2 separate regions of the Homo sapiens genome follow, and region 1 is linked to region 2. Evidence: promoter capture Hi-C in 16 types of primary human blood cells and fetal thymus (Javierre and others, 2016). All regions are on one chromosome and are shown on one strand. Each heading gives the region's core, a stretch centred on a gene start or on the middle of the fragment in contact. The rest is flanking DNA. Distances are from core to core; before and after follow the strand shown.

Region 1 (6,004 bases), core at 118-2,617, about 21 Mb after region 2:
AATCCTTTCTAGTTTGTATCTGTTTCTCTTCATAATTCATGGATACTATGCTTCTTTGTGTTCTCAAATTCCCCAGGTTCCTGTTATTTGTTCTCTTTCATTTTAGAAATGCTGCACACACCAGGTTGCTATTACCTCACCTTCTCACTTCTGGATCTTATTTCTGAATTACCTGTCCCCCTCATTTTCACCCCTTCTTTACGGGTTTCACCTTTCACGTGATAGCTTCTGTTTTTCAGACCTCATTTTTAAAGACGGCACAACAACACTTTAATGATCAGATACTTAAACCTTTGCTTTCGTGTAAATATCTTTGCTCTTGCAGATTTTGTGCTTTGCTTTGTATGTATTAGAATAACAATATGAAAGAAAACCAGTTTTCCAAAGGTAGGAAGAATTTCCCTCTTTGAGTGACAGCTGCAGATAAATAATTAAGGTGCTTCTGGGGATGCCAATTAGAAGCAATTATCATTTGACCCGCCTTGGCTCTAAAATGCCTCGGTAATCTCCCTCTGTCACAGGAAAGTGGAGGTCTGGCTTCTGTGATTACGACGCCGATCTCTTCCAGACTTGAGAACAAGCAGTCAAAGAAATGATGCCCTTTCCGATGCTTACATCTGTCACTCACTCTTGCGTTAGCCAAGTCACACACGGTCAACCTGCAAAGTTCAACCTACGTAGCCTTGACATCGCAGGTTGCTTTAATTCCTCCAAAAATCAAGTTGTGATTTTGGTATCTCTAAAAATCAAAAATCAAATTGTTTTTATTTTCTCCTGATCTATTTTGAAAGTGCCCCCAAATACGGTTTCAGTGGCTGGGACATCGCCTGTCGCCCAGACGCTGCCGTTCGCGCGTCCAACTGTGACAGCCAGGACCCTCCCTCGCCAACTCCTGCGCTCTGCCTTTCAGTGGCGTCTCCCATCCTGGCTACTCCACCCCTACGGTGAAAATCCACATCCCTTGCCCCATCCCAACTCACGCTCTGCGAGCGCCCACCACTCAAACTTTCTCAGGCCAAACTTTCCCTCTCTACCTAGATGCTGCGGAGACCAGCCTCGGGATTTCCAGGGAGCCACGCATTCACAAAGCTACCCCAAGCTCCCGAGCTGCGGGCCGCTCCCGCGGAGCCCGCGCTCACCCCGAGTAATTGTTCTCGCTCCCCACGTCGATGGTCTCGTCCATGTCGCTCTCGGAGGTCGTCTCCTCGCAGGGGCGCTTCATCCCGGCGAAGACCGCGCGGGGCACAGCCCGGCCGGAAGCTCGGACGCCGAGCGGGGCGCAGCACCCTGACGCCCGCCTCCTCCCTCCCCGGGCCTGGGCAGGCGCGGCTCCGGCGGCGGCGCGGTCTGCTCCTAGCGGCTCTTTCCCACGCCGCAACTCTGCTCGGCCGCAAGAGCCGGCGCCGGCCACGCCCCCCCCTCGAGCGGGTGGGGCCACCTCACCCGCCCCCGCGCACCGGCCCAGGCCTTCCGCCCGGCACCTCCCCCTCGCTGGTCGGCGTGGCTCGCGATTGGCTGGGCCAGGGGGCGGGGCCGCGCTCGCCAATGCCCGCCGCAAGGCTCCAGCCGAGGCGTGGGAACGCGGCCGCGGACCTGGTACCCCAGAGCAGCGAGCGGGTGGGGAGCAGCCGGGGCGAGAATGAGCGCAATCTTGCTAACCCCTGCGGAGGGAGCGCGCGGGCGCCAACGCGGGCGCGCGGGGGCGGGCCCTGGACCTGGACCTTGGGTTTCGGCCCTCCTCCGCGCCCCGCGGTCTCGCGGGCGAAGTTTCAGTCCTGAGTGTAAAGAATAACCCCAAGCGCGTGGCTAAGTGCGAGCAGGCGCGTGTGACGTCGGGAGGCGCCGCGGCTCCTCGGCCGCCCCACTCGGTGGTCCCCTGTCTGGATCCAAACTGCTGACTGGCTGACCCGAGTGGTCACATTTGCCCTCTGGGGCTTTTGAAAACCTTAAATCAAAATTGCTTTTGAATCTGACAACTCCTGAGGCTACTTTCGCGGCCTCGGGGCTGTTTCATATAAGGACGCGAGTTTTCCTGATCAGGTCTGTCGGCCACGTTACGATTTCCAATTTGCGATCCATCAGTTACTTCCATTGGGTCTTCAGCCCCCAGGGACTGTGGATCCTAGACCCCGCGGAGAAGCCCGTGGACTGGAGCTGTGTCAGCTCTGATGGTAGGAAAGACTAGATCAATGACGCGGGCATTTCAGGACATAATCGTATATTTTCAAGTTCGAGTTTTTCGGGCTTGGATTATCCAGATAATTGCCTCCAGTCTCCTCCAGTCCCCCTGGTGTATGCACTCGCAGCCGCAGAGTTAGAGTCCGGGAGGTGAAGATTGGCGCTTGGAAATTAGATTTGGTTTCTAAAGTATGAATTCGTGTCCAACAGTTCGTGCCTTGGACAACGTGGGTTGTATAAAACTCAAGCTGTGTGTTTAAAACAGGTTTTCTAGCTGCTGGTTCTCTCCAAGTTATGTAGGACTTTTGAACTGGCCACCCCGCTGTGCGTCTGCGAGGGCAGGGACTGAGCGAGACCCAGCCAGGGGCGCCGGGAGACTGGCGGCGGCTGGGTTGGGGTCCAGCCGGAAACCACACGTTGGCAGGGCCGCTTGGTCAGTAGTGGAGAGAGCCTCTGAGAAAGGGCCGTCTATCGATCCCCAGACCCCTCCGTCACGGAGGGATTCATAGCTTCCTGGGGATCGGCCCAGGGCGTCCCTTTGACACTCCGTTCTCTGTCCACACAAGCCCGGCGCGGGGCGGGGAGAAGAGGAAAGGACGCGACTGGGAAAGACGGGACCCTGGCGGGGTTTGGCCCGGGGGAGAGCGGGAAGGAGCCCGGTCGGCGCGGAGGACCTGCGGCCAGCGTGCTAAGCCCTTATTAGAACAGAAACCCCTTTCCCCCCACACTCTCATCTCTTTTGCGCGGTCCCCACCGCCATGCCTTCAATAACCTTGTGAATAGAAACCCGAATCGTTCCATCTTGGCTTCTGAAACTTAACCCCAGGCAAAGCACACACTCGGCGGGGCCAGGTGGGGCTGGATGGGGTCCGCGCCCGACGGCGGGGCCGCGGGGGTCGGTGAACCCCAGCTCCCCTGTCGGCCTCAGGGCGGATGGCTGGGTCGGCGCGGGGTTCGGGGCCTCCGATCGGCTGCACGAGGGCGGGCCAGGACCCAGACCCCGTCCCCGCTCCGGCCCCGCAATCCAGCGGGTGACGAGCCTGACGCGCGCCGGTCGCCTGCCACCTCCCGCCCCGAGCGCCCTGGGCCAGTACCTCCCGGCCGCAGGTGAACGCTCCGCGGCCCGCCAGGCTCAAGCTCGACCGTCACAACTTTCCGTGAGGGCTGCACGTTTTTCTGAATTCAAATGCCTGCAGGTGCAACTCATGTTTGCCACACGGGCAATTAGCGGGCGCGTCCAAACGCCTGAGGCAAAACCTGAGATCATCACTGAAAAAAAAAAATCTAACAGTTCTTTGCCACTATACTAGTGTATTTAATTATGATTGCGAAAAATTGCAGAGGGAAACGATTTGCTGGCAATTAAGTAGCAACTGGTTAAAGTTTTTTTTCAATTTGTCTTTGAAGACAACTGCTGTACTATGTATAAAGAAGAGTATAGCAGGGAAGTTCGAAAGCACACACGGAATTTTAAATCTGTTAAAAATATTTTTTAAGCAAAGAAGGTGGTATTTTAAAAGCATTTAAAACAGCGCCTGGTATATAGTAAGCGCCATAGAAGTCTGTTAAGAATGCATAGGGCAAGAGAGCTCAGGGTTTTGAACGCTATCAAAATAATATGCTTATTTATCTGCAAAACACAATAGCAATTAGGCAGCACGAGATTTCCCCATTAGGTCGTTTATTCTCCTCAGCTGTTTATTCCATTTGCCTGTCCCTTGGTTGAGCGCCTTGTCTGTCTATAACCGAAAGTGCGTTTCGGGTCAGAGAGACAGAAACAGACACAGGAAACCCTTTAAAGCGCCCCCGCCGACTTAAATACGGTAGTGGATTGGAGGTGGGGAGGTGTAGGGGAGGCGTTATGTGGAGAGAAAGAAAAGAGAAAGAATGAGGGAACGGCGGGATTTCAAGCCTCCCCGCCCTTCTGCGACAACCTTTTCAGCGAAAGGGAAGGCTTAGGAAGAAAAGATGTCCGCGCGTAGAGCAAACCGCAGTTCTTTCCTTTCTTTTTGAAGGATTTGTACCATGAGTTAATTACACCAAAAGATACGAGGGACTTTATTAGAAAGGAGATGCCGTTAGGAAAGAAAGGCCAGGACGGCCGATCTAAAGGGAATGGAGAAGGGAAGACTCAGACGCCCTCCCGAAATTGGTGGTCTAGCCTGTGTTTTGTGCTAAATGTTATTTAACTTAATGGCGTGGGAGTGAGATGTTGAATGCAGAGATCTGGAAATACCAGATTTAGTGGTCCTGTTCCTCCTCCCCGACTCTTTTCACACCCATTTAATAAAAAGTTACAGTTTTTACACCCGTATTGATAAATTTGGCGATGTTGGCCAAGTATTATCTCGCCCCGCAGATTTTGAATTTTGTTGCACAAACCGATGAAATGATTGCTTTGCTATAATTGTAAAACTTTTTTGGAACGAACCTGGATTTTTTTTATGCCTCTTCATCTACTTTTTGCTTCATTAGAGCCCTCTGGTTTTCCAAGATCGACTGTCACACTTTGTTATTTGTTGCTTCTCTAAATCCTTTGAGATGCTGCTCGCAGCTACGTAAAAAACGTTGGCCACTCAGGTATTTGATGGGCTTAGAAAGTCACCAAGATGTGACACCATTTAAAAGTTTTAGCTTGGTTTCTCAGTGAAATAAGGGCATCTCTGTTAATTAGAAAACTTTGTGTTAGTCTGAGATGCCTAAGAGCATAGTCCAAATTGAAAATTCCAATATTTTGCCACATCTGAAATATAATTATTTACACAGCCTTCTCTTTCAAAGGGAGGACAAACAGGTTGCCTTGAGAAGAGCTATTCTATTTGCAATTGCTGGGGCAGGTGACAAACACGTGTGTATCTGTGGGCAGCCTTGTTGGGCTGCCTTCCCTGACTACAAGGCTTTTGTGAGCTGGTAACGCCTTAAAATGTGTGAGAATGCTGCGCCCTAGGAGTGGAGGCCAAGGGCAAGATCCTTGTACATTTCAATACCTTTTCCAACATCAGGCTGGCAGCAGGCAGGCCAACCTAGGGTCACTGTGTGACACATATTTGCAAGCCAGTAAAGCAAAACAAAGCTGAAAGCAAGTGCAAATTTAGGCCCACCAACCTTGAAGTCATCCCTGAAAGGGAGCTGCTTTACTAGTTAATTTTTCTTGCCCAGTCAGCCACACAAAATGCATTGTATTTCTTGGCTTGCCCCAGTAATTGCGACTTACTTGTTACAGCAGAAGCTTCAAGGTAGGAAATCTATGACCCAAAGCTCTCTCTCGAAAGTTAGAATGTTTAAACTGATCTTTAAAACTGTTGTTGAGGGGCAATTTATTTAAAAGCTTTTATTTTATGGTGTTGTTAGTGCTTAGCATGCCTCAGGATAAAGACTAGTTTTATTGCAGGACCCTTGAGAAGAGGGGTGTATAGCAAGTAACCAGTTTTCCGTGTGCCAGTAAGCAACAGTGAGAACACTCAGTGTATTAGCTTAACTTTTTGTGGGAGTTAAATTGATGTTGGCAGGCTTTGCCTTTAAGGAAGTTCTTTTAAATTTCCATTTTCTTGAAGTTGGTTTGATTGGCAGATTTCCCCCCTCTCTTAAGGATACAATGAAACATATTCACTTCTCTTATGAAAATATTCTTTTAATAAACTACATTCCCATCCCCTAGAAAAATGCCCAGCACACAGTAGGGGTACAATAAATGGTTTCAGATTAATTTCTTGTTAAAATTAATGAACTCTCTGCTTCTTTACTTGTATATGTAGAATTTACACTCATTGGAATAATAAAATAGAAGTAAGCAACCGTGCATTAAAAAGCTATGAAAAGATGAAGA
Region 2 (6,286 bases), core at 2,025-4,524:
TGTTGGGAAAAAAAAGAAACTGCTTTCAGTTCCAAAGAATGCATCTAGATCCAACGCTGTACTAGTCTCGTCACTACAGAGTTTTGCTGAACACTCAGGGCCCACACTGACAAAATAACTTCATTCCCGTCTTCACACAACCCTAAACTAGATGGTCTTGATCACTGAGTTCAGGAATAAAAATATCTAACAATTGAAGCCAAAAAACATTCTGGTCATAACTATCTAGATATTTGGGCAAGAGCACTTCAGACACACCGTCTCAGAAATTAACAGATTCAGATCTAGCCTGGTCAGATTTTGTCGTTTATAAAGGTATGACTGCGTAGTATTTACTATGTATAGTAGACTTCACTTAGTAACACAGTTCAATAGTCCATCCTAAAACTTCTATTAGCATTTTGAAGATAGCACATTAAGTGACAAATAAAACTTGAGGCATTATCTATCTATCTATCTATACATATATATATATTTGTATGTATCACATAGTACTTCTTTGAAATAATGACTTTAAAATGTAAGTAAAATGCCTGGCACATGTTTAACTCAAATGCAGGTTCCCTCACTCCTTCTCAGGAACCAGAAAAATCTAAAATATAAAGGGGTAAAGCTCCTCCCCTATCGTATATTTCTTTTCTTTTTTTTGACAATAGTAATGTCTACTGAAATCATCTAGTGATTTTTTTTTTCTATTTATCACCAACACATTACTCATTAATATGCAGGAGGTAGATATCCCACAGATAGATGAATCCAAATCTTAAGTTTAAGAATATATTTAGGTTAAGTATGTTTCAAAGTCACAGTAAAAGAAAACACATTTCAACATAAAAATAGAAAGTGAGTCGTCTGTACTGTTCTCACTAAAAAATTATCTTGAAAAAAATCTTTTGAAGTATTTAAAAAAATGCTTGATAAAACTAATATAGTTCATACACAACCAGGAAAAGTAATTCTATACTACTAGTTTAATGTATAGTAACCTAACAGTTTTTACAAATACATAACAAATGTAGACTATGAGAGAAAAAGTATATCAAGAGAAAAAATTTATCCCCATGCATTTTTCAAGAAAACGCTCTAAAAACTGGTAGAAATATTAACCATTTATAACTATTCATAGAAAATTAATTTGCTACACTTCTGCTAATTGTTTTTCTACACGGACATGCCAAAAACAACCAAATTCAGATTGAAATCCAATCTCTAATTTATTAGAATAGGTCATAAGTTCAATATCTACCATGCATAATATTTTTAAAAGTAATTGTCTTTAAACCTCATCCTTAACATACCTCATTCATCACACCAATAGTATAGAAGCAGATATATTTTTCCTTAGAAACTTCTATCTCCTTACAAATAAAATAGTTATCATAAAAAAACTTTAGACCTCTATTTGGATATATGTTTAGCTACTATAAACTAGGAGCTGAGAAACATCACAGCAGTATATAAGCTGAATTATAATCAAGGGAAAAGCCAACACATGATTTCTCATAGTATATATCTAATCACACCAACAGGAAAATAAAAACTTTCTTTGGAACTAATCAGCAACACAGAAGGACTGGGGAGAACAAAGTAGAAGTTAAAAAATAAAATTAAAGAAAGGATACAGCCTTAAAGCACCAGTCTGAGTTCCCACTGCCAGGATCTTCTGTACAGGATCAAAGGCCAGGGCTGAGGGTTGATAGGGAAATCCATGGCGAACAGTCTAGGGATGGGCAAGTGACATCACAGCAACCAAGGCAGCAAGCGAAATTTTAAAATAGAAAGTCAATAGAGGCGTTAGAATTTAGAACCACTACCACTGATGCAAAACACATACACATGCACTTACTGCTTTTGAAAAAATAAGTGAAACCTACATTAACAAAGTTATTCACATAGAACCTGAAACAAACAAAAATCTAGTCCAGTGATATACTTTAATTTCGCTTTTCCATAATACTGGTATTCCATAGAAGAAAATCTTTTATTAATATTCTATACTACTACATCCGACACCAGATGACTAAAGTTTGCAATGGTCCAAAATTCTGTAAACCCATTAAATGCAATTCATACTTTATTTTGGCAGTATTCATTTCATCATTACTTTATTTGGATGCTAACGCAAGTACTTCTAAGGAAAAGCTGTCATATAATTACTTTAGTCAAGCATTCAGTAGAGCAATAATCAAACCTCTATCCCAACATTTTACACTTGTAACAGAATGAAGATGAGTACAACATACATTTTTGCAATTTACTATTAAGGCCATAATCATTTTAGGGCATTAGACCTATATATATATATATATATATATATATGCACACTTTTAATTAACTCTGACATACAAATACATGGCTATTTATGAGAAAGGCAGGTATTAAAACCGAGGCAAGTTTGTGTTTCTCATTAAGCAGCTGGTGACTTAATTCGCTGCATCATTCTTTCTGAATTACAGAACGCTATGGCAATTATCGTGCCATTAACAGGCAAAAATCTCAGTACTTTTTAACAAACATAATGATAAAAAGAACCCTGTGATTTCATATCGTAAGCCACTTACACCACATTTTAAGGGAAAAGTGATGAGCAAAGGTGTGGTAGAACAGGTTTGGCTTTTTGATAAACAACATTCATTAGACACCGTTTCCAAAGGAAACTTCGAAGTTGGTGAATCATATTAAAACGCTTGAATATAAAAGCTTCCAGGTTATTACTGGCAGTGTCAGAATACGATTAAAGGTCGGATAATAGTTTGAAGCAACCTTGAACTGATTGCTGCATGTGCAAAGGGGAGAGAGAAAAATCAATGAAAAGGAGTAAGGTATCAATCTCCAAAACAACCCACCGAAGAAACGTTTGCCAAGGGAGGAGCGAGCCTTTTATTAGAGTTATTATTATTATTATTGGCGTTCTCTTCCCTTGCATTCCCATGTAAAGCCCGAGTAGCCCCCTTAAAACAACCCCAATTTTTCAATGACGGTGTCGCGGGGCTGCGCGCTCCGTTCACCTTGCAGAGCTGAAAGTGCTCGGACTGGAGCGTTTCCTGGATCTCCGGCTCCCGGTTCCCAGGCGGATGCTGCTGCTGTTGCTGCTGCGACGCCGAGGACGAGCCGGCGGTCAGGCCGTCCAGCACCTTCCTGATGTTGAATTTCCTCATGGTCTCGGAGGGGCTCCCCCGCAGCCCGGGAGGGGAGGCACAGGGGGTCCCCGGGCGGGGGAGACCACCCGGGGCCGAAGGCAGCTTCGACCGCGGAAACGGAGGAGTGGGAGTGTGAGGGTAAGGAGGCAGCTGGGGGGAAGCAAAAGATAATCCGAACAGGAAATACTGCGACGACAAGAGCGGCGGCCGCAAGAAACCTGGGCGGCGACCCCTCTTCCTCCGAGGCCGCCGCTGCTTGGCGCGGCTGCTGTGGTGCCGATTCAGCCGCCGCCGCCGCCGCCTCGCTCCGCGGCCCGGCAGCAGCAGCAGCAGCAGTGGCGGCGGCGCCCGAGCCCGCTCAGCCCAGCCTCACCTGGCCGCGGGCGGACTCTGCGCCGCGCCGCCGCCCCGGCTCGCCCCCGGCGCCGCCACCGTCGCCGCTGCGTCCATGGCCCGCGGCCGCGCCGCTGCTCGCCCGCCCCGGCCCCGCAGTCCCTCGGCGCGTCCTCCGGCTCCTTCTCCTCCTGCCGGGGGTCGCCGGCTCTCTGTCCGCGGCCGCCGCTCGGCCTCGCACACAAGGCGCCTGGTGTGGGTCCCCGCGCCGCCTGCCTCGCCCCGCCTCGCTCCTCCGCCGCTGGACCGGCCCGCCCTCGCCGCTCCCGAGCCCGGCTGCGTTCCTCAGGCGCCGCCGCGGCCGTCGGCTCTCCCCGCCCAGCCGCTCCCCATCGCCTGACAGGGCGCCTCGGCACACGGCACCAACGCCCGCCCGGAGCAGCAGCGGCAGCCGCGGTTACAGCGCGGGCCGCGGCGGTGGCGGCAGCAGGGCCTCCCAGGAGCCGGGCTGCGGTACCTGCGCATGCGCGCCGCAGCCCGGTTCCCCCACCCTGGCCCAGCAGGCCCCCAGCCCCCCAGCCCGAGCGAAGCTGGGGCTTAAATTATCTTCTGCGAAAATCCCAGACGCTGGCTAAATTTCTCCCACCCCAGTCGAGTTGCCAGAGTATGCAGCTGCTTCTCTTGCAGCTGGCATAGTAAAAATGTTGACGACTAACAAGCAGCAGGAAACCTTTCTTTCCAATTCAGTCATTACAGCAGGGGTTGATGCTTTCTCGCCGTTAATGGGGTGCACGCTCCTGGCCGCTGGCTGCAGTATTATTTTTCTTGCTTTATTGACGGGCGTTGTTTTTGTTTGATTGGATTTGAGTTTTGAAAAAGAGCGTCTAGACAACGATATGTCAGTGGCAGGAGGATGATGGACTTAGGTACTAGGAAAAGGAGAGAAACCTAGACGGGAAAAAACGGGTTCTTTCCTACAGCTGTTACTGTTGGTGGAACGTGTCTGGTCTTAGCAGTTAGCTGCTGGGATGGAAGAGGCTGCCAGCGGGGAACGGTTCCAGGGCCGGTGTCAGCCCGGGCCGATGACACTACCCCGCACCCAGCCCCTCGCCGGGGAGGAGCGCGGGTGGCAGGAAACGCCGCGCTGCCACTATTTTTCAGAACCTTCAATCTGCCCTGACGCTGATGAGCCACTCAGTAATGCCCTGGGAGCTTCACTCTAGAACGGGGAAAGGGGGATAGGATGAAGTTTTTGCTCAGATCTTTCCGAGGCCGCACTGCCCATCTCGCGTGAATGCTTGGAGACAAATGCCTGGCTCAAGTTGGAAAAGACAGACAAGAGATTGTGCCGGGGAAACCCCCCGGAGAGTGCGTTCAACAGGACAGGTGGACGGAAGCACAGGTACTTGATTAGGAAGGATGTGGAAATAGGAAAGACGTAAGGAAGGAAGGAAGTGCAGGAAGACTAATCCTAATTCGGGGAGAGGGGGACAGGTTCCTAGCGAATGACTCCTCGCGCGCTCTGGTCTGCGGAAAAGCCACGGAACCGCCACAAAGGGTTTTTTTAAGTTCCAAACCTGTCAGAAGCACCCGCCCTCTTCTTTGTGAGGTCGGCTCCCTCTCCTTTAGGGAAATTCTCGTCACCCTATTGGTTGAGTTAACCAGCATTCAAAAGCAGTCAGCGAACCAACTACGACTGGGCCCAGGGATTTCGGGAAATGTAGTCCACTCTGCAGCTTCCGCATCCCAGGACGATGTCTTGCATTTGGAACCTACAAAATTTTGATTTGTCGTTTAATATTTATTGAATTAGTTGATTCGCTGGGTGCAACGACCAAGAAAACAAATGTGAGGACATTCCTAAACTATTTCCAAGTGGCTCTGAATTTTTTATTAATTTAGTTCTCTAACATTTTGTTGTCAGGCGGTGTGCTAGGTACTAAAGACACGAAAATGCAATCCTTGCTTTCAGCAAGCTCACTACGGTCTAACGGAGACGACTTTTAACATAAATAGTAATTGTAAAACGATGTGATGAGTCCAATGATGGAATAATGAAGGAGGACGGCAGAGGGCCACTTAACTGGCCAGGAAGGCTTGGACATGGTGACGCCCACCATAGATCATGCCGGATAAGGAGGAGCAGACCTAGCGAACAGGAGGCAAAGACCATTGGAAGACAATGGGGAAGAGAGCCTCAGAATTACCTTGAGAGCTTTTTAAAAGTACATGTGATTCCACAGGGGGAAATTGCAAAACAGACAGATCACAACCCCATAGAATTGTATGATCTGCCTTTTTACTTACCTAGGTCTAAAATAAATCTATTGGATAATTTTTCATCATTGGATTATAAAACTTTCTAGAAAAAAAAGACAACTTCTTGTTGAGAGGCTTTGTGGTGTAGTGGGAAAATATAGGCTTTGTTGTCAGCCAGCCATGAACTTCAGTCCAGGCCATGGTAATATGTGTAATCTTGGGCAAATTTTAAATTTTTCTAGGGATCAGATTCCTCAGGTTTAAAATGAGATTAATACCACCTTCTTAGAAATTTATGAGCATGAACTGGAGGGGGAAAAGAAAGAATATGAAAAGTTTGTACTGCATTGCTTAGTACTCTGTAGACACTCAAAAATGTCAGTTTCCTATTCTATCAGGGTCCTTGAGGTAAAGGGGACTTCAAAGAGTCACCAATTTAAGCCAGTTTCCTACTTCTGACTCTAGAATGTTTGTTTTTATTTCTATACTCTATCTTTTCCATCAGGTTATGAACTCATTCTGACATTCTCAAAATTTCAGTTCTTAGTGAATAC

Evidence for each region. Contacts are between HindIII fragments. The CHiCAGO score rates a contact against its expected background, and 5 or more counts as called.
Region 1: the fragment with the promoter of HEY2 here is called in contact with the fragment with the promoter of STXBP5 in region 2 in 1 of 17 cell types (total B cells); the score reaches 6.4 in total B cells.

Annotation. Positions count from the first base shown.
Region 1 is chr6:125,744,995-125,750,998 of GRCh38, reverse strand. HEY2 (hes related family bHLH transcription factor with YRPW motif 2) reads right to left here and starts at 1,367. Exons shown (of 5, transcript NM_012259.3): 1 at 1,140-1,367. The coding sequence starts at 1,222. HEY2-AS1 (HEY2 antisense RNA 1) reads left to right here and starts at 1,574. Exons shown (of 5, transcript NR_183491.1): 1 at 1,574-2,040. RefSeq lists silencers at 1,149-1,858, 3,033-3,212 and an enhancer at 4,983-5,650. The HindIII fragment of the contact is 5,509 bases long and covers 1-5,409 here.
Region 2 is chr6:147,201,405-147,207,690 of GRCh38, reverse strand. It overlaps STXBP5 (syntaxin binding protein 5), which reads right to left and starts at 3,274. Exons shown (of 28, transcript NM_001127715.4): 1 at 3,009-3,274; 2 at 1,623-1,720. The coding sequence starts at 3,158. It overlaps STXBP5-AS1 (STXBP5 antisense RNA 1), which reads left to right and starts at 3,077. Exons shown (of 11, transcript NR_034115.1): 1 at 3,077-3,278. It overlaps LOC124901422 (a long non-coding RNA gene), which reads left to right and starts at 4,120. Exons shown (of 2, transcript XR_007059803.1): 1 at 4,120-4,875; 2 at 5,398-5,815. RefSeq lists silencers at 3,132-3,321, 3,492-3,571, 3,592-3,641, 3,672-4,091. The HindIII fragment of the contact is 4,433 bases long and covers 2,703-6,286 here.